Linked DNA regions of Homo sapiens: all the other regions are linked to region 1. The links are contacts of gene promoters, found by promoter capture Hi-C in blood cells and fetal thymus (Javierre and others, 2016). All regions are on one chromosome and are shown on one strand. Each heading gives the region's core, a stretch centred on a gene start or on the middle of the fragment in contact. The rest is flanking DNA. Distances are from core to core; before and after follow the strand shown.

Evidence for each region. Contacts are between HindIII fragments. The CHiCAGO score rates a contact against its expected background, and 5 or more counts as called.
Region 2: a fragment that was not itself captured here is called in contact with the fragment with the promoter of RCVRN in region 1 in 1 of 17 cell types (naive B cells); the score reaches 5.1 in naive B cells.
Region 3: a fragment that was not itself captured here is called in contact with the fragment with the promoter of RCVRN in region 1 in 6 of 17 cell types (monocytes, M0 macrophages, naive B cells and 3 more); the score reaches 13.7 in monocytes.
Region 4: a fragment that was not itself captured here is called in contact with the fragment with the promoter of RCVRN in region 1 in 2 of 17 cell types (naive B cells and M1 macrophages); the score reaches 5.5 in naive B cells.
Region 5: a fragment that was not itself captured here is called in contact with the fragment with the promoter of RCVRN in region 1 in 4 of 17 cell types (total B cells, naive B cells, monocytes and 1 more); the score reaches 7.8 in total B cells.

Annotation. Positions count from the first base shown.
Region 1 is chr17:9,903,714-9,908,828 of GRCh38, forward strand. RCVRN (recoverin) reads right to left here and starts at 1,558. Exons shown (of 3, transcript NM_002903.3): 1 at 1,087-1,558. The coding sequence starts at 1,467. The HindIII fragment of the contact is 11,305 bases long and covers 1-5,115 here.
Region 2 is chr17:10,576,064-10,581,448 of GRCh38, forward strand. All of the region lies in intron 3 of MYHAS (myosin heavy chain gene cluster antisense RNA), which reads left to right. Among named protein-coding and RNA genes, the nearest start is that of MYH2, 29 kb to the left of the region's middle. The HindIII fragment of the contact is 3,331 bases long and covers 1-3,173 here.
Region 3 is chr17:10,620,892-10,626,078 of GRCh38, forward strand. It overlaps MYHAS (myosin heavy chain gene cluster antisense RNA), which reads left to right. Exons shown (of 11, transcript NR_125367.1): 11 at 1,861-4,649. Among named protein-coding and RNA genes, the nearest start is that of MYH3, 34 kb to the right of the region's middle. The HindIII fragment of the contact is 7,509 bases long and covers 43-5,187 here.
Region 4 is chr17:10,643,204-10,648,313 of GRCh38, forward strand. MYH3 (myosin heavy chain 3) reads right to left here. Exons shown (of 41, transcript NM_002470.4): 9 at 4,160-4,223; 10 at 3,979-4,077; 11 at 2,726-2,829; 12 at 2,504-2,642; 13 at 1,381-1,499; 14 at 1,148-1,297. Among named protein-coding and RNA genes, the nearest start is that of MYH3, 12 kb to the right of the region's middle. The HindIII fragment of the contact is 241 bases long and covers 1,203-1,443 here.
Region 5 is chr17:10,594,225-10,599,558 of GRCh38, forward strand. It overlaps MYHAS (myosin heavy chain gene cluster antisense RNA), which reads left to right. Exons shown (of 11, transcript NR_125367.1): 6 at 3,849-3,998. Among named protein-coding and RNA genes, the nearest start is that of MYH2, 47 kb to the left of the region's middle. The HindIII fragment of the contact is 2,266 bases long and covers 2,394-4,659 here.

The DNA of each region.
Region 1 (5,115 bases), core at 308-2,807:
ACATCTTAAGGCAACTTCTATGTGGGAACATCATAGAGCATCCTTGCACGAACACAGATGGTAGAGCCGACTACATCCCTGAGCTCCATGGTCCAGCCTTTTGCTCCTAGGCTACAAACCTGTGCAGCACGTGACTGTCCTGAATGTTGCAGGCAGTTGTCACACGATGGTAAGTATTTGTGCATCTAAACATAGCTAAACATAGAAATCATGCAGTAAAAATACAGTATAAAGATAAAAAATGGGCCGGGCACAGTGGCTCATGCCTGTAAATCCCAGCACTTTGGGAGGCTGAGGCTGGCGGATCGCTGGAGGTCGGGAGTTTGAGACCAGCCTGACCAACATGGTGAAACCCCGTCTCTACTAAAAATACAAAAATTAGCTAGGCATAGTGGTGCACACCTGTAATCCCAGCTACTCGGGAGGCTGAGACAGGAGAATTGCTTGAACTCGGGAGGCAGAGGTTGCAGTGAGCCAAGATCGCACTATTGCACTCCAGCTCTGGGCTACAGAGTGAGACTCCATCTCAAAAAAATAAAAAATAAAAAACCAAGATACAAAATGGTAGACCTGTCTAGGGCACTCACCATGAGTGGAGCTTGCAGGACTGGGAGTTGCTCTGGGTGAGTCAGTGAGTGAGTAGTGAGTGAATGTGAAGAACTAGGACATTACCGTACACAACTACAGACTTTACGGATACACTTAGGCTACACTAAATGCATTTGAAAAATAAAGTAACTGTGCTATGACGTCACTAGGCAGTAGGAATTTTTCAGCTCCATTACAATCTTATGGGACCACAGTGGTCTATATCGTCCGTTGTTGACCCAAACATCGTGAAGCCAAGCATAACATGGCTGTATTAGGAAACACTCAGATTCTGCTCCGGGAAGACAACGAAGCTGTGGGCAAGTGCCCACCCCTCTATCAATATCAGCATCTCGGAGCACCACGCTCTCAGAGCCAGTGGCCCGCATCCCCCGCTCCACCCACAGATCCACTCCCTCTGCAGCAGCTGCAGCAGGGGACCCCCAGCCCGGAGCGACCCCGGCACCGCCCAGCCAGAAGGGGAGAGGGGAGACTGACCATGACGATCTCCAGCACTTCATTCTTGCTGATGGTCCCGTTACCGTCCACGTCGTAGAGGGAGAAGGCCCACTCCAGCTTCTGGTTGGTCTTGCCCGCGGTGGTCATGTGCAGGGCGATGACGTACTCCTTGAAGTCCAGGGTGCCGTCGAGGTTGGAATCGAAGCTGCGGAACACATGCTGGGCGTAGGCCTTGGGGTCGGTGTCGGGGAAGAACTTGGCGTAGATGCTCTGGAACTGCTGCTGGGTGATGCGGCCGGTGGGACAGTCCTTCAGGAAGGACTGGTACCAGGAGCACAGCTCCTCCTCCGAGAACTTGGTGTTCAGCTGCAGCTCCTCCAGGATCTCCTTGGACAGGGCCCCACTTTTGCTGTTCCCCATGAGTGAGGAAGAGTGGGCAGCGGCTGGGGAGTCGCTGGGTGGGTGGGACGTGCGTGGTCCCCTGGCCGCAGGCTGGGCTCAAGGCTGGTGTGAGCTGAAGACCGAGATGCTGGTGGCTTAGGAGGATTTGCGACCAGTTCTTCGCAATCCTTGAAGGGAGGAGGGGCCCAGGAGCTTTGTGGAGGGCGGGAGCGGTGGGGGGGGGTGCTCCCAGAACCCTAGTGAGATTAAAATAAAGAGCCCAGGGCAGGCAGGCAATTCATCTCGGCCTCCCGGGACGATACTAGAACAGGACAGGAGGTTGGAACCCTCAGAGCTGGGGCCTCCGGCACCCCCAGCCCCAGCCCTCTAACAGCAGCCATGTTCCCTGTTTCTCTTCCTCACTAACTCTGAGCATCTCGGGGCGGGGCTGGCATCTCATATCAAGCCCTAGAATGCAATGGTTAGGAGCACAGACTCTGGGGCCAGCATGGGTTCAAGTCCCAGCTTGGCTACTTAACTAGCTGTGTGGCCCCAGGCTTGTTTCTTCACCTCTTTCCACCTGGGACACTCTTCTAAACCTTCACTGCAGTCATGTCTCTGCTTAAATGTCACCTGCTCAGCCAGGCCTATACTGACCCTCTATCTATAATAGCACAACCCCCACCATCATCGGCACGCTGCATGTCCCCTCACCGGAATGAAAGCTCCGTGAAGGATGGGATTTTGTCTGTGTTGTTCCCGGATGCATTTCCATTGCCAGAACCTGATAGGCTTGGGCCCCCAGCAAGTCTTTCTTGAATAAATGGGCATCATAGCATCTACCACACTGTCATTGTGAGGCTGATGTGAGTCAATATGTCTGACACACTTAGAAACTGGCACATGGCTAATGCTAAACACTCGTTTTGTTATTGTCCATCAGTCACAGGGAGTGAAGGTGAACTGCCTGAAGGGACCAGCAGGGGGCAGCCAGGCCTGTGTCACCTCGGGAAGGGGCTGCCAGAGAACGTGGTCACATGGGATGGTGAGATTTTTGGGTTTTTTTAAATTATTCAAGAGAAATCCAAAAATCAGAATTTTTCTTGCAATTTCCACACTTTTCAACTTTGGCAATTAATTCAAAATTTTAATGGTGGCTCACGTCTGTAATCCCAGCACTTTGGGAGACTGAGTGGGGAGATTACAAGGTTAGGAGTTCGAGACCAGCCTGGCCAACATGGTGAAACCCTGTCTCTACTAAAAATACAAAAAATTAGCCGGGCATGGTGGCAGGTGACTGTAATCCCAGCTACTTGGGAGGCTGAGGCTGGAGAATCGCTTGAACCCGGGAGGCAGAGGTTGCAGTGAGCCGAGATTGCACCATTGCACTCCAGCCTGGGTGACAAGTGTGAGACTCCATCTCAAAAAAACAAAACAAAAACAAAAACAAAAACAAAACAAAACATGGTGTGGGCCAAACACAATCTATCTGTGGGTCCATGGCAGGCTGCAGGGTGTCCGTCTGCAGTGGACTTGGAGTGAGCAGGCAAGAAAACGTGTTTGCTGAGTGAATGGATAAATAACTGAGTGGTCAGAGACGGAGCTGTGCAAAGGCAGGCTTCGCGTCTGTGCAGCTCAGCGGGGAGTATCAAGCACGAGGAAGCAACCTAGTGAGGACGCTGCACACCTGGATTCTTGTCACCCAGAAGGAAGGGAGGGTGGGCGTGCACTTTCCTTAGCGGAGCGCAGTGCTCGAGGGGACACACTCAGAACCCCAGCCTTGCCACCGTGGATGGAGAGTTGTCTCTTTTTGCCCTGGGGTGAGAATGATGAAGAATAAACCCCACGGTCTCCAGGCAGGTAAACTGGTTTTTTTTTAGACGGAGTCTCCCTCTGTCACTTAGGCTGGGCACGATCTTGGCTCACTGCAACCTCCGCCTCCTGGTTTCAAGCAATTCTCCTGTCTCAGTCCCCTGAGAAGCTGGGACTACAGGTGTCTGCCACCACGCCCAGCTAATTTTTTTTTGGTATTTTTAGTAGAGTCGAGGTTTCACCATATTGGTCAGGCTGGTCTCGTAAACTCCTGACCTCAGGTGATCCGCCCGCCTTGCATCTCAAAGTGTAAAGTGGGGATTTTAGCCTACTTACTAACAGGCTAGTGGCAGCAGAAGGTAGGTCCCTGCTGCTGGGAGAAAGCCACCTGCCAGGCCCACCTCATGTCACTCTGGAAGGACCGAGAGGTTCAGGCACCAAGGGGCAGACTCATCCCTCCCAGCCGCTCTGCCCAGTACAGTTTCAGAGATTTCTCAGGAAACCTGCATATTGGGGTGTGTGTGTGAACTTTCTAATTTTTTTCCATCACTTTGTGAGTTTTTTTTTTTTTGTTTGTTTGTTTTTTTTGTTTTTTTTTTTTTAAGACAGAGCCTCATTCTGCGCCCAGGCTGGAGTGCAATGGCACGATCTCGGCTCACTGCAACCTCTGCCTCCCAGGTTCAAGCGATTTTCCTGCCTCAGCCTCCCAAGTAGCTGGGATTACAGGCGCTCACCACCATGCCCAGCTAATTTTTGTGTTTTTAGCAGAGATGGGATTTCACCTTGTTGGTCAGGCCGGTCTCGATCCCCTGACCTCATGATCTGCCTGCTTTGGCCTCCCCAAGTGCTGGGATTACAGGCATGAGCCACTGCGCCCAGTGAGAATATTACTTCTGAATAGGAGTCCTTCCTCTCCTAGGCTTTCACCATCCTGTAGCGTGCATTTATTCTCAAGAGCAGTTAGAAACAGGACAGTCACTAGCCTTGAAAACAAACGGGAGCCCAAGCCACACCCTGGAATCGCATTCATTCCAGAGCTTCCTTGCAGCCCTGGGGATGGAGGGAGAGTGAGGTCAGAGGCCTCGGCCCCTTGCTCTGAGCCACTAGTAGGGGGCGACTGGAAGTGCCTCCTGGATCGCACCCCTGTCCACATCAAGCCTGCAGCAGATGAGGCGAAGCCAGTGTTACAAGTGAGAAGTGGGGCCTCCTAAAGGCATGTCACCAGCCTGGGGTCACATGGTTGCTAAATGGCAATGCCAGAAGGAAGGAAAGTCCAGGTCTGCCAGCCTGTCCATTTAGGCTTCCTTTGTCTACGTCACAGGAGGCCTGAGCCTAGAGGACAAGTAGGTGAGGAGGTGGGGTTACCATGTCAATGAAAGAGGCCCTGGGCGAGGCAGAAGGCAGCCAGAGCCCTCCAGTCTTTGCTGTCCTCTCCAGGCACAAGGAGGAAGGAGCTGGACCCAGGTCGGAAGCAGCCTGGTACAGTCCACATTCTCCAGGTTGCTGTGCCCAGGAGGGGCCCCAGGGGACCGCAGGCAGCTGTGTTGATGCTGAGAGTGAGGGGTCATGACCTGGAGGTTTGTTTGAAAACCTGCATAAACATCTTCTATCAGAGGGAGAGCTTATGCTCCTTAGCCAAACAAGTTGTTGGAGATGATGTATTGTGAGTCGATTTGTTAAGTCTGAGCTGGGGCCATAAACTCTCCCAAAACCCAAAGACTGCTCTAGAGGAGAAGGCTTCATCTCCAGGCAGAGGATCCCAGTTTTGGTCTCGCTCTCCTCGCTGGACTGAAAGATGCTTCCCAGAAGCTGGCCCTGTCCCCTCAAGCAGGAGCTCCATCTTGGCCATTAGCTGGGACCCAGACGCCACCCCTT
Region 2 (5,385 bases), core at 258-2,757, 670 kb after region 1:
AAAATGACATATTTCAAATACAAGTTAATTCTTTTCTTTTAGCTAAATTGTTCACGATTGAATGGTGCTTTTATACGTCAAGAAAATGATCCCTTCTCTTCCTGATCTTCTATTAAAAACAATGAGACAATTAATTTTTCCTACTGATGAATCTGATAATATGCACTGTTAAATGTGTGGAACGCAAATTTAGAGTTTCTTATACAGATCAGATACTCAGAGGGAGTATAATTCACCAAGGATTCCCCTTTGGAAAATGATGTTTAAAAGCTCAGAGAGCACTAATTAGATTAAGTACGATGATCATGAGAGAAATGTTAGATTAGAACCAAAAAGTTTTTGAAAGGGTAGAGCAATTCGGAGGAGCTAAGAGAAGATTAATGCATAAGAATTGAGTGACTGTGCTAATGACAAAAAGAACCTAAAGGGACACATTTCAAATCAGTCAATGGTAAATGGTGGAGAGGTGTGAGAGGAAAAGGGGTCAGGGCCCCTTTGACAAATATTCTCTTAGGTATTTTCTCTTAATAGAGGGTCCTTGTGGAGGAAGAGTGATCTAAAAGTTTGCATGGGTAAAGGAATACCTGTTGAATTCAGTAAGACCTTAAATGCCCAGGGGAACTCTCTGGCCTTGGCTTAGTAAGCAATAGAAGTCACTGAAGGTCTTGAGGAAAAAGGAGGGAGAAGAACGCCGTAGGTTAGAGAAGCAAATCTGGAAGTATAGTGTAGACTGTGGGAGAAGAGTTCACGCTGGCGATTAGAGGCATGTGTGAGTTTCGATTGAATGTGTGGGCAGGGCTTACAGATATGAGATGACTCTGAGATATTCTTTTTTTTTCTTTTTTTTTTTTGAGACGGAGTCTCACTGTGTCGTCCAGGCTGGAATGTAGTGGCGTGATCTTGGCTCACTGCAAGCTCTGCCTCCCAGGTTCACGCCATTCTCCTGCCTCAGCCTCCTGAGTAGCTGGGACTACAGGCGCCTGCCACCACGCCCAGCTAATTTTTTGTATTTTTAGTAGAGACGGGGTTTCACTGTGTTTGCCAGGATGGTCTCGATCTCCTGACCTTGTGATCCATCCACCTAGGCCTCCCAAAGTGCTGGGATTACAGGCTTGAGCCACCGTGCCTAGCCAACTCTGAGATATTCTAAAGGAGTGGGGGGCTTACAGAGAGGAATCATGGACAGGCTAGATGGTATCTTTGAAGTTATCTGATCCAATATACTACCCAATACGATATGTCTACATTTAACAGTCCATAGCTTACATTAGAGTTCACTCTGTGTTGGTCATTCTATGGATTTTGACTAATGTCATACATCCACCATTACAGTATCACATAGATATCAATTTCTTTTTCAGAGACAGTGTAGACTAATGCTGTATCAATGAAGGAATTTTCTTTGACTACCAGATATCTGTTTCTGTAATGTTATCAGTGGATTCCCACTGTTCTGCCAGAAGTTTTGAATGTTCTTCCTGCTTTGCAGGCAGTTTCTCCCTAAAGAACTACTGAATATTATGTCATACTCCCAACAGGGTAATATATGTGATGTGCACTGTAAAACTTTCCAAAAGTTATTAAAATACTGAGTTCCAAATGCACCTGGCCCCAAAGGTTGTGGATTTGGAGTTGTGGATCTATACTCCCTAGTATCCCCAGCAGGATCTGGGAGAGGACCTCAGAATCAAACAACTTCATATTTCTGCAGTGAAAGAATCTCTGCACATAAATACTCACACTAAGTGGGATAAAGAGAGATAAATATCTCTACACCACTTTCAGTCAAGTTTTGTTGTGAAAGGGAAAACTTATTTTCTTAAAAAAAAAAGATTTTGTCTTTTCAAAGCATTTTGGATTTCAGAATTGTAGATAAGGGATGGTGGACCTAGACAACACATGACAAAGTGATATAAATGCCACTGTAAAAAAGACTATGGCACTCCAGCCTGGGCAACAGAGTGGGACCCTGTCTCAAAAAAAAAACAAAAAAAAAAACAAAAACGGCCGGGCTCAGTGGCTCACGCCAGTAATCCCAACACTTTGGGAGGCCAAGGCAGGCGGATCACATGAGGTCAGGAGACCAGCCTGACCAACATGATGGAACCCCATCTCTACTAAAAATACAAAAATCAGCTTGGTGTGGTGGTGTGCGCCTGTAATCCCAGCTACTCAGGAGGCTGAGGCAGGAGAATCACTTGAACCTGGGAGGCGGAGGTTGCAGTGAGCTGAAATTGCACCACTACACTCCAGCCTGGGTGACAGAGTGAAACTCCATCTCAGAAAAAAAAAAAAAAGAAAAGAAAAAAAATAAAAGGCTATGGGCCCATAGAGAGGCAATTGGTTCGTATCTTTACCCCTTAGCTAAGCTGATTTTAGATAGGTCAAGAGGAAGTGATAAGGGAATGGAGCCAGTGGCATGGACTATTTGTATGAGAAATTTATGGTGGGGCGCGGTGGCTCACTCCTGTAATCCCAGGACTTTGGGAGGCCGAGGTGGGCGGATCACCTGAGGTCAGGAGTTCAAGACCAGCCTGACCAACATGGAGAAACCCCGTCTCTACTAAAAATACAAAATTAGCTGGGTGTGGTGGCACATGCCTGTAATCCCAGCTACTCGGGAGGCTGAGGCAGGAGAATCGCTTGAACCCAGGAGGCAGAGATTTCAGTGAGCAGAGATCGTACCATTGCACTCCAGCCTGGGCAACAAGAGTGAAACTCAGTCTAAAAAAATAAAAGAAAATAAACGTATTAAAATGTTTCAATTGCTATGTTTTTGTTAAAAGCACCAGGAATTCCAACTCAAAGAAGCTAAAACATTAAATGTGTCAGCTAATGTATCTGGAAGGATCAGAGAGAAGACTAGCATAAGGCAAGGCTTGATCTGGAAGCTCAGTGATACTATCAAGAGCTCAGATCCTTTTGGCCTCTCAGCTCTGCCCTGTAACTTATACTTTTAGGTGTACATGAGCAGGGAAAACAAAACTGAAGACCGTAGCTTAGGCCATATGCCCCATCCATCCCTGGAGGTAACAAGAGGAAAGTCACCTTCCTTGGGACTGTATAGATGCCCAAACAGAAATCTGAGGGTATTGAGAAGGGGGAAGAGGGATTGGCTGGTGCAGAGGGAAGCATTTGACAAAGACAAGGGGAGAAGCCATTGAAAGGAGGTAAGCTTTTAATGTTTGTTTTAGATAGAGAGTATATGTGTGTGTTTGAGGGCAGAAAAGTGGGGATGGGGTGAGTTGAAGTCTAGAACTCATTAGAGACGTCCTGGAGGAGGAGGGGAAGAGAAAGGATTTAGACAGAGAGAGACAGTGGGTGTGTGGCTTGGTAACTAGATTGTGGCAACTGGCTCTGGTATCCTGAACTTGAACTGCCTGATAGATGAACGGGCACACCTGGTTACTCAAGGCAGTGTCTCTTGGGGATTGCTGTGGTTACAGAGCAGTTTTTTCTGTGAGGTCAAGCCACAGCTATAGCCTCAAGCTACTTGAGAGCTAAACCTATCTGTTTAATTATTGCTAAAAGGATTTTATTGTTCACTATGCACAGGCATATAAAAATGCACTTTGAGGTTATAAGATTGGGTCCCTGAACTGACCCTTTTTTGGTTTCAAGCAGCAACCATTACAGAATTTTAACCAGATAAACTGTTAGTAAAACATATCCACAGTGATTGCCACTTCTCTGCTATCTTTATATGAAGATAGCATTTTTTAGAAGAAAAACTCTTTATTGAGTATGATATAAAATGCAAACAACTAAACATCATAAGATGACAATTTGATGAATTTTCACCAACTGAAAACAACGAGCTAATTAGCATCCACGTTGAAAACCAGCACATCGCTGCCACTCCAGTAGCTTTCTTCTACATGTTATTCTGACCATGTTTATGCTTAATCCAGTTTAGGGATAAGGCTACCAAAAGCATGTAGTCTGCCTTTGAAATAATATCATGGCAATTTTAGAGTCAACTGTTAACTTGGTTATGTCAGTATTTCACTGCTGGAAGACTGATTTCAGAAATACTTTGCTCCCAAAAAACACATCTTTAAGCAAAAATCTGAATTGCCCATAACAATAATTTTCTCCTTTTGGTACATCAGCAGAATCTGTCAAATGGAAGGGTGAATTGATGAGATGTAGAGGATATGGATCTTTATTAAGCAGCAATGAGTGAGCAAAGAAGCAAAATATTAAATAGCAAAAAACAACAAACAAACAAAACAAAAAAAGAAGTGGAGACTGTACCTTACTATTTAATTCAGGATACTAAATACATACTTTGCAAGTGATGGTTATTTGCTAATAGCTTTTTAAGGTGTTTTACTTTGTAAAGATTATTATAGAAGAAACTGTTCTTCTTACTTCATTTTATACAAATAATAATGTCAGTAGTATTTAGTCAGTGGCCCCTATTTTTTTTTTTTTTTTTTTTTTGAGACAGAGTCTTGCTCTGTCAGCCAGGCTGGAGTGCAGTGGTGCAATCTCGGCTCACTGCAACCTCTGCCTCCTGGGCTCAAGCAATTCCCCTGCCTCAGCCTCCCGAGTAGCTGGGACTACAGGCATGTGCCACCATGCCCGGCTAATTTATTGTATTTTTAGTAGAGACGGGGTCTCACCGTGTTGGCCAGGCTGGTCTCAAACTCCTGACCTCAGGTAATCCACCCACCTCGGCCTCCCAAAGTGCTGGGATTACAGGCGTGAGCCACCGCACCCGACCAACTGGCCCTATATTTTTATAGAACATTTATATATTTGTTTTTGTTATTCTAACTTGTTTCTGTTTTATTAGAATATCAGTGCAGATCTGACATCTATCAATCTACATAAATATATATATATAATTCAATCCAATAAACATATGTATATTTATGTAAATGGATCTTGAGATGGGAGTAGGGCATGTGAATTTGGAAATAGTGTTTTAAAACATCAGTGGGTAGCTATTTTATAGTTACTTGTTTTATAGTTTTTATAGTTACTTGTTTTTCTGAGGTAGGATAGAAGAAGCAGTTGAGGACTGGAATAGGAAGGAAAAGGCTGGGGAGGGAAAGTTGTAGAAAAAAGATAGGAAGCTGAGAGGTCATGGGAGCTGCTTTTGCTGAAGTTGTTCATCAAACCAGGGGCCAGATGGCCAGGCTGAGGTGGAGGGGACCCTCCTCCAATATCCCTGACTCCCTTGCCTGTGCTTGGCCTCTGCTGGGACTGAGAACTGGGAGAGTGGCTGCCATTGGCTTGCCTGCTCCCAGGCGATTCAACACTTTCCTGTTCCCTTTCCTCCAACCATACATTGGCTCCCGGGACCAGGCCGTGTGTTTATGTGTGTGTTCATTCAGTCATAACTGCACACCATCGATTCAGATCACACATATTTAT
Region 3 (5,187 bases), core at 2,547-5,046, 720 kb after region 1:
AAACTTTGTGTAGCAGAGATCTAGGCCTGCATTTCCCAGACAAGCTTTATGATGAAAGTCACCTGGGTGCTTATTAACTATACAAGTTACCAGGTCTCTCCCCTGGAAATTCCCGTTTTGTGGATCTGGCTTTGGGCCCAGGAATCCGCTTTTTAAAACAACTGCTCTAAGAGTTTACCTTTAGGCAGATGATTAGAATCACCAGGGAACGTTTCAATGCAGATTCCCCAGCTCCAACCCAACCTACTGACTCAGAATCTCTGACGGTGCAGCCCTAAATTCTGAATTTTTTTTTAAAGAAAGTAAACCAGGCAGCCAGGCATGGTGGCTCACGTCTATAATCCTAGCACTTTGGGAGGCCTAAGCGAGTGGATAACAAGGTCAGGAGTTTGAGACCAGTCTGGCCAATATGGTGAAACCCTGTCTCTGCTAAAAATACAAAACTTAGCTGGGTATGGTGGTGGGTGCCTGTAGTCCCAGCTACTTAGGAGGCTGAGGCAGGAGAATCGCTTGAATCCGGGAGGCGGAGGTTGCAGTGAGCCAAGATTACGCCACTGCACTCCAGCCTGGGTGACAGGGTGAGACTCTATCTCAAAAAAAAAAAAAAAAAGTAAACCAGGCAATGCTGATGCCCAGCTAGGTTTAGAAACCCTTGGAATAGTTCAGACCTCTCGTTTTTCAAGTAAGGAACCGGAAACCTGGAGAGTGAGATGCCAAAGATTATGAAAGAAACTGGAAGGAAAGTGAAGACTGGAACAGAGATTTTCTCATTCCTGCTTGAGTGTTCTTCCAATGACTGTGTGTGTGTAGCTTTGAAAATACAAAGTATTGGGAATAGGAACTGTGATACAAACAAAGGTAAGTAGGACAGTGTAAGTCATGACTGCTACTCAGGGAGAGTAGAGGGAGTATTTAAAAATGCCCCTAAAAAGGTGCACAAAGGATAGGGGCGTAGCCACTGGTGGGTGGGGAGGACCAAGACAGCCTGAGGTGTGTTAAGATTTCAAGGGGAGATGGCTGGGCGGGAGTAGTGAAGGGGAGCCACATCTGCGGGCACACGTGGAAGGACAGGTTGAGTATCCATCTGAGGCGGCCTGGCGTGGTGGCTCACACCTGTAATCCCAGCACTTTGGGAGGCTGAGGCGGGTGGATCACAAGGTCAGGAGTTCGAGACCAGCCTGGCCAATATGGTGAAACTCCGTCTCTACCAAAATTACAAAAATTAGCTGGGTGTGGTGGTGGGCACCTATAGTCCCGGCTACTAGGGAGGCTGAGGCAGGAGAATTGCTTGAACCTGGGAGGTGGAGGTTACACTGAGCGGAGATAGCACCACTGCACTCCAGCCTGGGTGACAAAGCAAGACTCTATCACAAAAATAATAATAATAATAATAAGTATCCATCTGAGGCAAGTGTACTAAACTGATGGGCCGGGAGGGGGCATTCACAGTTGCTGGGCAGAGCAGTGACAGGTCAGAGTTGTGTTTCAAATAGGCCTAAGTAGGACTAAGTTGTATTAACTAACTTGAATGGACTCAGCTGTAACATTGTCTGTCTTGAACACTACACACTTTGGGGCCAAATGGTTGGTGAACCATGTGTACCCCAGATCACCAGCTCTTCATATCACCATGCAAGCCAAAAATTCGTTTCAATTGAGCCATGACATGCAGGAAGAGACTGCCCAAAATTGCTTCTTCCTTTTTCTGTAACACTTAATATTCAAACTGTCTTTTTAACTCAGCAACACAGGATGATTTAAACTATAGACCTAGTATTAATATTTCCTTACAGAGGTGGCAACAGCCACCAAAACAAACAAACAAAAAAGCTCATGTTCATCTCCACCCCCATATTTCAGACAGTGACATGAAGGCAATGGATTCTCAGCATTACAAGGCAAGACAGAACTTGAAGGAAGAAGGCTGGGAGGAAACCAATGTTGAATGAACACTGACTCTGTGCTCAGCCCTGAGCAAGCAGTGGAATGCCCCTGGGCTGTGAGCCACGAATTCAAATCCCAGCTTGTAGAGCTGTTCTGGGGGTTAGAAGTTTGGGGTCCCTCGTTGCTGCACTCGTTCCAGGTTTGGGGCTGGCGCTGCCCTTCTGACCCCTCCCTAAAGTGGACACAGGAGAAGGAGCGGGGAGAAGAGACAGGCGGCCAGGAGACACCCTGTTGAGGGCTCCCTCTGCTTGCAACAGGACCTGCTGAGGTTGCAGCTGAAGTGCTGGTCTTCCCAGAGAAAACAACCCCTCATTCTCAAAGGATGAGAGTGAGCCCTGCGGGGCTGCATGCTCTTGGCCATGGGAGATCAACTGTGGTCACATAGAGTGTAATCAGTGTGTATTTATGGATCACTCACTACATGCAAGACCGGGACACAGCCGGGATTTACTGTGGGGCTGAAAGCAAGTCACTTAAAAAGGTAAAAATTCATGTCCTTTTAATCTACTTTTCAGCAAGGAACATCACGTCTGAATGCTCGCGGCCTCTGCCTGCCCCGTGGGATGGTGCTGGAAATTATACTCATATTTAGATAGCATTCTCTGCAAGTGGCTGCTGTTGTCCTTCCATCGTCAGCACAGGCAGATGCTGGGAGTACCCACCTTGGGGTGAGGTGGCAAGAGAGGGCCAGCTTGTATCCGCCTCGTTGTCGTCCTTCCTTCCTGACTTGACTCTCTCCTCTGTGGCCTTCTCAGGAGTGGGATGTGGTTGTGAGGAGAATGTGCACTTTACCCCTCACCAGTCCAGAGAGGGGCACATAGCCCAAACCTCTCCCCTTCCCAGAAACCTGCAAGTCCCCCTGGGTGCGCCTGTGTGATGAGGCAGGCTCCGAGAGCCACAGGCTGGTGGGCCACTAGGAAGCAGTAAAGGAAGACATTTTATGATTGTAGCTGGAGATAATGAATTGAAAAGCTGGTCTCTGTTTCTGGAAATGATGCCAGGAGGCCCTCAAAATAAACGCCCACCTGTCCTTCAGGTCTCAACACCTGTTGCTCTTGGGACAGAGATCCCAGGCCCAAAATAGGCACAGCTGCTATGGATGCTCGTCTTGCCCTCCTGGAGCTGAGACTGGGCCATGTTTGGAAATATGTCTCCCTCCATCCCCTCCTCCCATCCTCATTTGGAGCCTTAGGGCTTTAAGACGTGAGCTCTTTCCTCGCTCCCTCTCCCCAGTCTTTCTTGGGTATCTCTGCTCCTCCCATCACCTGTTCCTGGGCATGGCATAGGCAGTTGGTAAATGACAGATGAATGAATACATGTACAAGGAAACACAGATCTGAAATTTCTAGCAGCAAAGTTTGGAGCAGGAAGCTCTGGCTGGCCCTGGGCTTTTTGCTAAGGGTGTTCTGGCTTCGCGTGGCAGCACCCCTCCCCACCGGGCCTTTGCCAGGACGCTCGATCCTCTCTTCGGGCTTCTGAGCAGTGTGAATTGCAAACAGCCATGCCCACTCCCCAGGCCAAGAAAACCAAGTTCATGGCCAGGATTGCTCACAAAAAAAAAAAAAAAAAAAGAACCACTTCTGCCTTATCATTCTCTCTTTATTACCGAAATGCGGAGACAGAAAGTCAACAGAGAAAGAATTGTTTTCCCCAAGGCCACACAGATTGCTCCAACACTTGACTTTTCCTGCTAGGAACTCAATCCAAGAGATGGGCTTTCTTTTGTTCTCTGACTATAAAAGGGTGTCACCTTGTCACCATCTTCTATCACACAGGACCCCTATGGGCTTGGTTTGGTTTTGTTCTTTCATCATTATTATTTGGAAAGTTATATTTCCTTTACTGTCCTTGAGGTGTGAGGCTTCACCTCATCTTGTCTCCATATCCCTGAGTCACTAAGGAGTCCTATGTCAATGACACCTCTCCATATGCTTTACCTAAGCTGCCCCTTCTCTCAGCAAGTTCGCGCCAGGCTTCCCCATGAAGGCCACCTAAGGGTGTCTATCGTCCCCCTCCTAAATCTCCCCAGGACTTTTGAACAAGGGCCATGTCCAGTTTAATGTCACACAAAGAAGACTCATCAAAGCCCAGGAGTTGGGAGTTCTTGCTCCTCACTGCCATGGAAAGCATGAAACATCTGAGATAAAAATAATCTGTGCCATCCCCTGGCTCCGGATGGACAGCAGTTGGGGCATGAGCGCCTCCAGAATGTCTCAGCATTGCTGAGGGTAACCGGATCGCCGCTCAGATCCAGCAGGCAGCCTCAGAACCTCCCAGCTGCTGTTGTTTTTAGCACCGGGATTATTGGTAGGGGTGTAAATAGACATCTGTGTTCTGGGTGGCTCGCTCACCCCACATTCCTAGGCACACTTGTTTTATTAAAGCTCTCAGCTGTCGGGTGATCCAGGCGTGGAGAAATGAAAGGCCGCCCTCACCAGCTGGTGGTGGACTGCAAACTGCAACCAGTTTTCCCCCATAAGGACATGTTACTCCTATTAGAAACTGTGTCCCTCACATGTCCTTAAGAAGCGGGCCATCTGCCAATCATAAATCGAGATCTCAGCCGTTCCAAATAAAGAAAGAGTCTACCCTCCTTGCTGGCAGTCCTTTTATAGTTGACAGATTTTTTTTTTTAATCTTGTGCTTGGCCATGTATTTCTTGTGTAATTAAAAAATTATAAAAGGTAATAAAAAATACAAATCCACTGCTAAGAGATTTAAGACTCAATAAAAATTTCAGAAAGCCAGAGGTTTCTGGATAGTATGAGGATTACAAGGAGAAGGTTAATAAATTCCATGTCCCAACACCAGAAAAAAAGAATAAAAGAGAAAAAACAAGGCTATTTATGAAAAGGAAAAGTAATTAGAAATGGCCCTTAATGGCTGAGTGTGGTGGCTCATACCTGTAATCCCAGCACCTTGGGAGGCCGAGGCGGGTGGATCACCTAAGGTCAGAAGTTCGAGATCATTCTGGCCAACATGGTAAAACCCCGTCTCTACTAAAAATACAAAAAAATTAGCCAGGCATGGTGGCGTGTGCCTGTAGTCCCAGCTACCTGGGAGGCTGAGGCATGAGAATTGCTTGAAACCGGGTGGCAAAAGTTGCACTGAGCCAAGATCGCACCACTGCGCTCCAGCCTGGGTGACAGAGTGAGACTCCTTCTCAATAAAAATAAAAAATATAATAAGAAATGGTCCTTAATTTGGAGAGGCTCACCCAAAAAAGTGAGCCTGAAGAGAAGG
Region 4 (5,110 bases), core at 73-2,572, 740 kb after region 1:
AGTTCCCAAGGTCTGGGCATCTCTTGTGTACTTTATTTTGTAGTTACTCTTCAATGTGCCATATAGACTTCTATTTCTTCTCTACTAGACTACAAGCTCATCTGTTTTTTTCACCTGTATGTCTTGTACCTGGGAAACCTAAATATACACTTTGATGAGTGGCTATGCACTTTTTTTTTTCTTTTTTTTTTGAGACGGAGTCTTGCTCTGTCACCAGGCTGGAGTGCAATGGCACCATCTCGGCTCACTGCAACCTCCGCCTCCCAGGTTCAAATGATTCTCCTGCCTCAGCCTCCAGAGTGGCTGGAACTACAGGCGCACGCCACCACACCCATCTAATTTTTGTATTTTTAGTAGAGACGGGGTTTCACCATGTTGGCCAGGATGGTCTTGATCTCTTGACCTTGCGATCTGCCTGCCTCAGCCTCCCAAAGTGCTGGGATTACAGGCATGAGGCACCATGCCCAGCCGCGGCTATGCACGGTCTAACACAGAACCAGTGGGATATTTATAGAAAATAGTGCGTGATTAACTTATCAAATTCTCTGTATCTATTTGATGGCAGTCCCTAAATCAGTGATTGCATTTAATTTTTTTTCTTTTATCCATTTGAAAATGTCCTTTAAAATTCCACTTGATAGACATCTTCTCCTCTTTTAAAATAATACAAACCCAGCCAGGTGCGGTGGCTCATGCCTGTAATCCCAACACTTTCGGAGGCCGAGGCGGATGGATCACTTGAGGTCAGGAGTTCGAGACCAGCCTAGCCAACATGGTGAAACCCCATCTCTACTAAAAATACAAAAATTAGCCAGGCATGGTGGCACACGCCTGTAATCCCAGCTATTCAGGAGGCTGAGGCAGGAGGTTCACTTGAACTCAGGAAGAGGTTGCAGTGAGCCGAGATGGCGCCACTGCATTCTGGCCTGAGTGACAGGGTGAAACTCAGTCTCAAAAAAAAAAAACAAACAAAAAACCCTAATACAAACCCTTCCAATAAGTACCGCTCCTCTATTCCATCCACTCTCCATCTAGTTTCTTACAGGAAACTAAGACAGCCGCCATCTTGCTATCTTCCCTTTAGGATCATGAAACCAATTTCCCTCATATGAAGCCATATGAAAATATGAATATAAGTAACACAAACCTCAAAGATTTCAAAGCCTGCAATGTCCAAAACACCAATGAAGTGTTGTCTTGGAAGCTTCGTATCCAGTTGCTGGTTAATGCGAGTGACCATCCACAAGAACAACTTTTCATAAACTGATTTTGAAAGAGCATTCACAGCATGGTGAACCTATCAGGGGAAAGATCAGCTACTGGATATGAAGGAAGTGGCCAGCAGGGTCCTGCACCCTTTCCCGGCCTTGAAGCTGTTACCTGATCCACAGTTTGACCTTTGGTAACGTACTCATTCCCAACTTTCACTCTAGGAAAGCACAAAGCTTTTAGGAGGTCCGAAGAGTTCAGGCCCATCAGATAGGCTGTTTTGTCAGCCACTGGCAAGAAAACAAGGACAGTGCTTAGAAAAGTAGAAGAGCTGCTTTGAAAATCATCCAGAAGTTTCAAAGGTTGGTTAAGTTCATCTTGGTACATTGTGCATTCCCTGTGGCTAAACTGCATATACATGGCCAATGGAAGCTAAGTCACTCAGAGAATATAATGGACTTTATGAAAAGCCAGGGCTGGGTCTCAGAAAGCCCTGGTCATCCCTCACTGCATCTGAAACAAGACTATTCGAGTGATTCAGGAAAAGCGAGTGGTAACAATAGCTATGGGCATCGGAGGCCCAGAAAGGGTCATTCACTTCTCCAGATGGAAGGATTAATCGCTTCCATCCATTTTTTTTTTTTTGAGACAGTCTTACTGTGTTGCCCAGGCTGGAGTGCAGTGGCACGATCTCAGTGCACTGCAACCTCTGCCTCCTGGGTTCAAGAAACTCTCATGCCGGCAGGGCACAGTGGCTCACACCCGTAATCACAGCACTTTGGGATGCCAAGGCAGGCGAATCATTTGAGGTCAGGAGTTTGAGCCTGGCCAACATGGTGAAACCCCGTTTCTACTAAAAATACAAAAAAGTTAGCCAGGCGCGGTGGTGTGTGCCTGTAATCCCAGCTACTCGGGAGGCTGAGGCAGGAGAATCACTTGAACCCAGGCAGCAGAGGTTGCAGTGAGCTGAGATCATGCCACTGCACTCTAGCCTGGATGACAGAGCAAAACTCTGTCTGACTCTCGTGCCTCAGCCTCCTGAGTAGCTGGGATTATAGGCATGCTCCACCATGCCCAGCTAATTTTTTTTAGTAGAGATGGGGTTTCACCATGTTGGCCATGCTGGTCTCGAACTCCTGACCTCAGGTGATCTGGCCCCCTCAGCCTCCCAAAGTGCTGGGATTACAGGTGTGAGCCACTGTGCCTGGCTGGATTAATTGCTTTCAAAAGCAGTACCAAGTGACCTCAGCAGATCAGCCACCCGCTCTGGTTTGCTGTCACACTGATTTTGTACCTTCTGTGCCATCCGGCTCGGCCTGCTCCTCTCGCTGCTTCTGCTTGAACTTCATGTTCCCGTAGTGCATCACGGCTCCCGTCAGCTTGTAGAGCCCAGATTTCTCTTCTGGGGTGAAGCCCAGGATGTCAATGGCGCTCTGGCATGGAAAGGGCAGCACGTCAGTCAGTTGGCCCCAGTGATGGAGGAGGAACACCCACCCCTTCTGTTGGTTCCACTTACGTCTGTAGCCAGCAGCTCCTCTGCATCATCTATGCTGGCCACCAGGATCTCCCCCTGGCTAATGAACGGGTAGTCGTAAGGGTTGGTCGTAATAAGCAGCAGCTCTGAAATGACAAATAGTTCCAGGAGGTTATGCAGATGCAAAGAAAAAACCCACCCAGTGGACTTGAGCTCCTGCACCCTGGGCTGGAACTTTTACCGCTGGATCCTAAATTGAACTTAGAATTAAAAATCTTTTAGACAGTTCCACAATACTCAGGCTGTCATGGAAAATATAGTCCAGGGAAGACTTTTCAGTCTCCCACACAATGGAGATGAAGGACCCTAGAGAGAACCTTTAAATTCCCTTGCCTTGCACGCTAATGGTGCATATCAGTGTCGGCTGGGAGAAGTTAATAGGGAAAACTGGCTGAGTGCGGGTCAGGACGAGAGCCAACCCAGGTGGTTTGGTATAATCATAGCCTTTTCTAAAATCTGTTGAAAAGCAGCAGCCTGTTTCCAAGCTGGAGACCAGAAGGCTGAGCAAATACAGCCAAAGAGCAAAGAAGCAGTGTGCATGGAGACCTCTGTGAGGGGCAGACAAGGGGCAGTGTGCAGTGCCTCCGTGGGCTTGATTATTCTGTTTGCTTTGGCGTCGCATTTGGCCATAGGTTGTTTCTGTGCCAGAACACAAGGGGGCGCCAAAGGACAGTTAGGTGTTCAGTTGCTCAGAAGGTTTTTATAAACCAGAGCTGGTCAGGAGTGGTCTAATCTTGTTGCCCTCCATTTGATTAGGTTTTCAAATTGGCATGTCACTGCCCAGATAGCCACATCCCATTTCTAAAATAAGCTTTTCCTGGCAAAGTGCAGTGGCTCACACCTATAATCCCAGCACTGTGGGAGGCCGAGTCGGGCAAATTGCTTGAGCCCAGGAGTTCAAGACCAACCTGGGCAACATGGTGAAACCTCATCTCTACAAAAAACACAAAAGGTAGCCTGGTGTGGGGGCATGCACCTGTAGTCGCAGCCACTCGGGAGGCTGGGGCTGGAGGATTACTTGAACCCAGAAAGGTCAAGACTACAAGTGAGCTGTGCTTGTGCCACTGCACCCCAGCCTGGGCATCAGAGTGAGACCCTATCTCAAAATAAATAAATAAAATAAAATAAACTTTCCCTGTTGACTGTAGAGTCACTCTACGTAGATACAACTCTCCTTGGTCTAGTGATCAGAGTCAAACTACCTAAAAGACCAGCCCCACTGGTGACTTCCTCACCTATGAGCTCAGGCTTCTTGTTAGAAAGAATCTGGTAGAAGATGTGGTAGCTTCTTTCAGCCTTCAGCTGGAAAGTGACTCTTGATTTTTCCAGAAGATCTGGAACACAAACACAGGACTCTCTTTCAAACTGTTCCCAGTTAACTCTGAGACGCCATCGAATCCCCATGGATCTACTTACAAGTTTCAATATCTGCAGAGGCCAGCTTCCCAGTGGTTCCAAAATGGATTCGGATGAACTTGCCCTGTATGGGGCGGGATTCAGGGGGAGACCAGATTCTACCATGGCCCAATAGTTCCTATTCATCTTATGGGTAATTTGAGTAGGAGCCTAGTCCCCCTAAAATTTTTGTTTTGTTTTGTTTTGTTTTGTTATGTTTTTGAGACGGAGTCTCGCTCTGTCACCAGGCTGGAGTGCAGTGGCGTGATCTCGGCTCACTGCAACCTCTGCCTCCCGGGTTCAAGTGATTCTCCTGCCTCAGCCTCCTGAGTAGCTGGGACTACAATCACGTGCCACCACACCTGGCTAATTTCTGTATTTTTAATAGAGACGGGGTTTCACCATGTTGGCCAGGATGGTCTCGATCTCTTGACCTCGTGATCCGCCCGCCTCGGCCTCCCAAAGTGCTGGGATTACAGGCGTGAGCCACCGTGCCCAGCACCCCCTACAGTTTGAAATTAGATATGTCCTTCCTCTTCTCCCTTCTTCTTCTTCCAGTTTGGGGTTTTCCTTATTTCCTTTTATTTATCCCTTTTATTCTATGCTCATCCCCCACTTCAACGTATCTAGTCAACAAAGCAACTACAGTGATTGTTTCAAGGTGTAAATCAAACCATATCACTCCCTGGCTTATAGAATCCCTCAGTAGCTTCCTGTTACACTTCAAAAGGAATCCAAACTCCTTCTCATGGCCTGTGGCTCCCACATGACCAGGTCTCTCTCTCTTCCACCTCATCTCATGGAACTGGCCCCCCTGCCCTCCTCCCTACAACCACACAGACCCTCTGTAGGTGCCCTGACTGCACCAGGCCCTCCCCCATGTCAGGGACTGCCCTGGCCCTTCCTTCGTTCCCCCTCCTTCCTGTCATTTCAAGTTGGGCTCTTTCTCATACTGCGGCTCTCAGCTCCCGT
Region 5 (5,334 bases), core at 2,277-4,776, 690 kb after region 1:
TGTGTCTTGTGGAGGAAATACATATGTTAGACAAGCTACATTCAGGCATGGGTTACAGTGCTATTGGCCACGAGTTCAATGTTAATAAATAAACAATATATAACTGTCTTTAAATAATCAGGTGTCTTTAAATAGAAACACACATGAAACAAAGTTATGTATTGGTCAGGTGATGAAAATGTGACCAGAGGCTCACAGGAACCGAACCCTGTATTTCCCCTAGGAGCAATGGCTCTGTATTCACTAATTCAGCATCCACAGTAATTTTATAGAACTACTGCAAATAATGATAATTGACTGTATTCATGTGGGAAAGCCCACTTGAAGGATATATAAAAAGCTGGTAACACCAGTGACTCCAAAAAACAGAATTAGGTGGCTGAGGGACGGGGTGGGAGGGGACTCTTTACTATAATTCCTTTTTTGTTTTGGGCTACACAAGTGTAGCCATCAAAAAATTAAACTTAAAAAACAAATGCAAATAATAAAATGAAAAAAAAACAATTTAATCATGTTTGTCTTTAATCTCAGGAAAACAAAGTAACGCCTATCAAAAATCCAATGTATCAAATGACACCCAAATGCCCTCCCTGGTCTTCTAGACCTTCCACAAGCTGTTCTCATGCTCTGTCTGCTCAGCTCTGCTTCTCACCACCCGCTTCATGAGTGTATCTGGTTATCCCTCTGGATTACCCCTTGCCCTGCAAAGTACTCAGTAACTCAGTTACTTTGGTGTTGATTACTTCACATGTCTCAACAGAAACACCTTTCTTCTCTCTACCTAGCAACATTCTGCTTTTTCTTCAAAATCTTTAAATATTTTCCTGACCATCCCACTCTAAGGGACCTTTCTCTTCGGCTTGCTGGAACTCATTAGAGTTTGTTATAACTTACCATTGTAGCCAACTGACTTTGTTGGTTGTGTTTAAGTTTTGAGTCTCCCTAAATTCATTACAAGTTATTGAGGATGGGATTGGTGTCCTTCTTGGAACTCCTTCAGAGCCTTGCATGTAATAGAAACTCAATAATGTTGATTAATTATCCTTTATCATTCCATACCACAGTTTTTTTTTGGAGATGGAGTCTCACTCTGTTGCCCAGGCTGGAGTGCAGTGGCACAATCTCAGCTCACTGCAATCTCCGCCTCCTGGGTTCAAGCGATTCTCCTGCCTCAGCCTCCTGAGTAGCTGGGACTACCGGTGCCCACCACCACACCTGGCTAATTTTTGTATTTTTAGTAGAGACAGGGTTTCCCCATATTGGCCAGGCTGGTCTCGAACTCCTGACCTTGTGATCTGCCCGCTTTGGCCTCCCAAAGTGCTGGGATTACATGTATGAGCCCATCATGCCCAGCCTGCAGCCTGTCTTTCTAAGTGTATTCCTGTCCAGTTAGGTAAAAGTGAAGCTGCCTAGGTAATTAAGTTTTAAGAGTAGTATGAAGATGTTGGTTGGAGACCTGAAAAAGACATGCAATTGCTCTTCAAAATGAGCGAAAGTAGAATTGTGCCATTTGTGAGGAGGCGATCCAGAAACCAGATTTTTATCTCAAACGAGTCACAAAATGGGAAGGGATCCAAGTGTCGATTTGTTGAATTCCTGCTGGGCTACACACTGTCTGTAGCACCTAGTATACCTCATTTTATTTACATGAGCCTATCAGGTAGCTTTAATGAATTCCATTTTATAGGTGAACAAATGGAAGTTTAGTCACTAGCATATGTGTTATGCAGCTGGTAATTGCAGAATCGGGATAAGAGGCCAGGTCTAAAGGCCTATCATGTTGGGTTGTCCCCAAACAGAACACATAATAAACATTTTGAACAAATATAAGTTATTTGCTGTAAATTCACAGGATTACACCTCTGGGTAAAATACAGGGCAAGAATGTTTTGAGATGGCCCCAGCCAAGCATTGTACATCTATGATATGCTGCAAGGGAGGAGGAAACAGAACGAAGAACTTTGCCCTCCTTCAAGGCAACTAGTATCAGCTAGTGATAGTTCTCAGTCCTAGCTGAACATTGGTTCCACCTGGGGAGCTTAAAAAACTATGGAAGGCTTTGGAAGGCTGAGGCAGGGGGATTACCGGAGGTCAGGAGTTCGAGACCAGCCTGGCCACATGGTGAAATCCTGTCTCTACTAAAAATACAAAATTAGCCGGGCATGGTGGTGGATGCCTATAATCCTAGCTACTTGGGAGGCTGAGGCAGGAGAATCACTTGGATCCGGGAGGCAGAGGTTGCAGTGAGCCGAGATTGTGCTATTGCACTCCAGCCTGGGTGACAGAGTGAGACTCCATCTCAAAAACAAACAAACAAACAAACAAACTATGGACGGGAAGGGCATTGGACATAATTAGTTTTGGGTGGGACTCAGGTACCAGTACCATTATAAAGCTTTCCAGGTGATTCTAATGTGCAACCAGGGTTGAGAACCACTGAGCTAAAACCACAGAGAGGTACACGGATCAAGTGGTTTCTTTAGTTCAGTGGTTTTTAAGTCTGGTTCTTGGACCACCAGCATTAGTATCACTTGGGAACATAATAGAAATGAAAACTCATGCACTTCACCCAAGACTCACTGAATCAGAAACCCTGAAGGTGGGGCCCAGAAACTCTATCTTAAACTCTCTGGATGATTTTGTTGTACAGTAAGGTTTGAGAACCACTGCTCTCAGAACAGGCAATTCATTGAAAAGGAAAAACAAATAGCCAATAAACATATGCAAAGATGTTCAACCACTTTTAGGGAAATACAATGGAAAGTAACAATGAGGGCCAGTGCGGTGGCTCATGCCTGTAATCCCAGCACTTTGGGAGGCCGAGGCATGTGGATCACCTGAGGTCGGGAGTTCGAGACCAGCCTGACCAACATGGTGAAACCCCATCTCTACTAAAAATACAAAAAATTAGCCAGGCATGGTGGCGGGCTCCTGTAGTCTCAGCTACTTGGGAGGCTGAGGCAGGAGAATGGTTTGAACCTGGGAGGCAGAGCTTGCAGTGAGCTGAGATAGCACCACTGCACTCCAGCCTGGGCAACAGAGGGAGACTCCATCTCAAAAAAAAAAAAAAAAAAAAAATTAGCCAGGCATGGTGGTGCATGCCTGTAATCCCAGCTACTCAGGAGGCTGAGGCAGGAGAATCGCTTGAACCTGGGAGGTGGAGGTTGCAGTGAGCTGAGGTCTTGCCACTGTACTCCATCTTAGGCGACAGAGTGAGACTCTGTCTCAAAAAAAAAAAAAAGTAACAATGAGATACACTTTTTAATCTTTCAGACTGGCAAAACTTGAAATGATCGATAATATCCAGTGTGACAGTAGGAGACAGGAAAACATTTTATATACGACTAGTGGAGGGGTAAACCACCACCACTATAACAACCTTAGAGAGAATTTGTCAGTTGAATTACAGATTACACATATGTATATCCCAGGACCAGGCAATTCCCTCCTTGGCCTCCCTGCTAAAGAAACACTTATACCACCCATAATCCCAAGACTTTGGGAGATTGAGGCGGGCAGATCACTTGAGGTCAGGAGTTCCAGATCAGCCTGGCCAACATGGTGAAACCCTGTCTCTACCAAAAAATACAGAAATTAGCCAAGTGTGGTGGCACGCACCTATAGTCCCAGCTACTTGGGATGCTGAAGTGGGAGAATTGCTTGAACTCGGCAGGCAGTGGTTGCAGTGAGCCGAGATTGTGCCATTGCACTCCAACCTAGACCACAGAGTAAGATGCTATCTCAAAAACAACAGCAAAACAAACAAAAACCACATGCACGCACACACTTGTACTAGTGCATAAAATGATGAATAAAAGATATTCATATGCATCATGCTGTTTTTGCAGTGGGAAACAGCCCAAGTGTCCATCACTAGAGGAATGCCTGAGTATACTGAGGCCAGCCTTACTATAGAGTCCAAGCAGCAAGTGACAAGGATGAGGTGGCTCTACATGTGCACGTGTAGAACTGCCCCCAAGACCTTGTGAAATGCAAAGGCAAGTTGCACACACATGGATCAAATACAATTTATGGTCTACGTGAAATGTGGTGGGGGAAACATCCGGAATGGAGGTGTGGACAAAGAGACTTCAGCCTTATCTATAATTTTAAAATTTCTGCTAAGATTATTATCCAAGAATTTTTTGAGCAATAAAAAATAATTTTGGGGTGTGAAAAAAATTTCTGTGGAAATAATATACTAGATTGATGATATATTATGGTATACTTAATAATTTTTGGTCATGAAGCTCTGAGAATCTGACAAAAGTTTCCCCTCCCCCACAAAGGCACAATATGTTTGTTCAATTTGAAGGAATTTCTAGATAACCTGAAGCCCATTCATAGACCCCTTAGGGCTTCCTGACCCCAGGTTGAGAGCTTCTGGGCTGCTCAGCCTTCAAGGGTTCTAAGTGGTTTTACTCTTCTGTCCTGGGCTCCATGACCCCTTCTTTGTCGTATGTGTCTCAGAGGAGTCATAACATCTGACAGCTATTTTTATGAGCATCAGCAGCTCTTCTCCTGCAGATTAAATTTCACCAGAAGGTAGATTTTCGCTGACATCTTAATACTTGGAAAGGAGCAGATGATCCTTGAGGAGTGAGTGAATATAGCATATGGTTTGCTGAGCTGCAAACAGAAGCTGATCTATGTCAAGGAAGCTTCAAGTGTTACACATGTGCTCTTAGGCATCATCAGGTTCTGTTTTTAAGTTCTGCAGTGTCATTCTCCCCATGCACACAGACCCTTTTCAGTGTTTTCCACTTGGCTTATATATTAAAAGAAGAAGAAAATAGCAAGAAAAGATTATCTTTCCACTGTTAGATTTTTAATCGATATTCTGTTATTCCAAAATGGTGGCAGAACAAAGGTTTTTATTTGCCTTATTTTCGTCTACTTTAAACTGTCTTAAATGGCAAAGCCAGTTCTCATAAAAGTGAAACTCCTTGGTAATCTACTTTTTATTAAGTCCCAGAGCTGCCAATAGATTTATGGTTCTTAGGTAGTAAGTCTGATTAAATGTGATGTGCCTGCCATTTCCATGGATGCCTTGCACACACTGTCGACCTCATCTCTCTGTGCCCACCCAGGACCTCATTGCTGCTCACCCTGTAGCAGGTTTGAGAGAGCTCTGGACAAGTTGACTACAGGTGGATTTATTTCTCCTTTCTCTAGCCTCCCATGGATGCACTTACATTCTAAGTAGGAAAAGACAGGTCTAAATATTATATGTTATCTGAGAAATTTGGATGGTCATTCCTTTAAAAAAAAACACCATGGATTTTATTCAGTAGGGATGCAACTGGATATTCTTGAGTCTTTTCCCATCTGGAA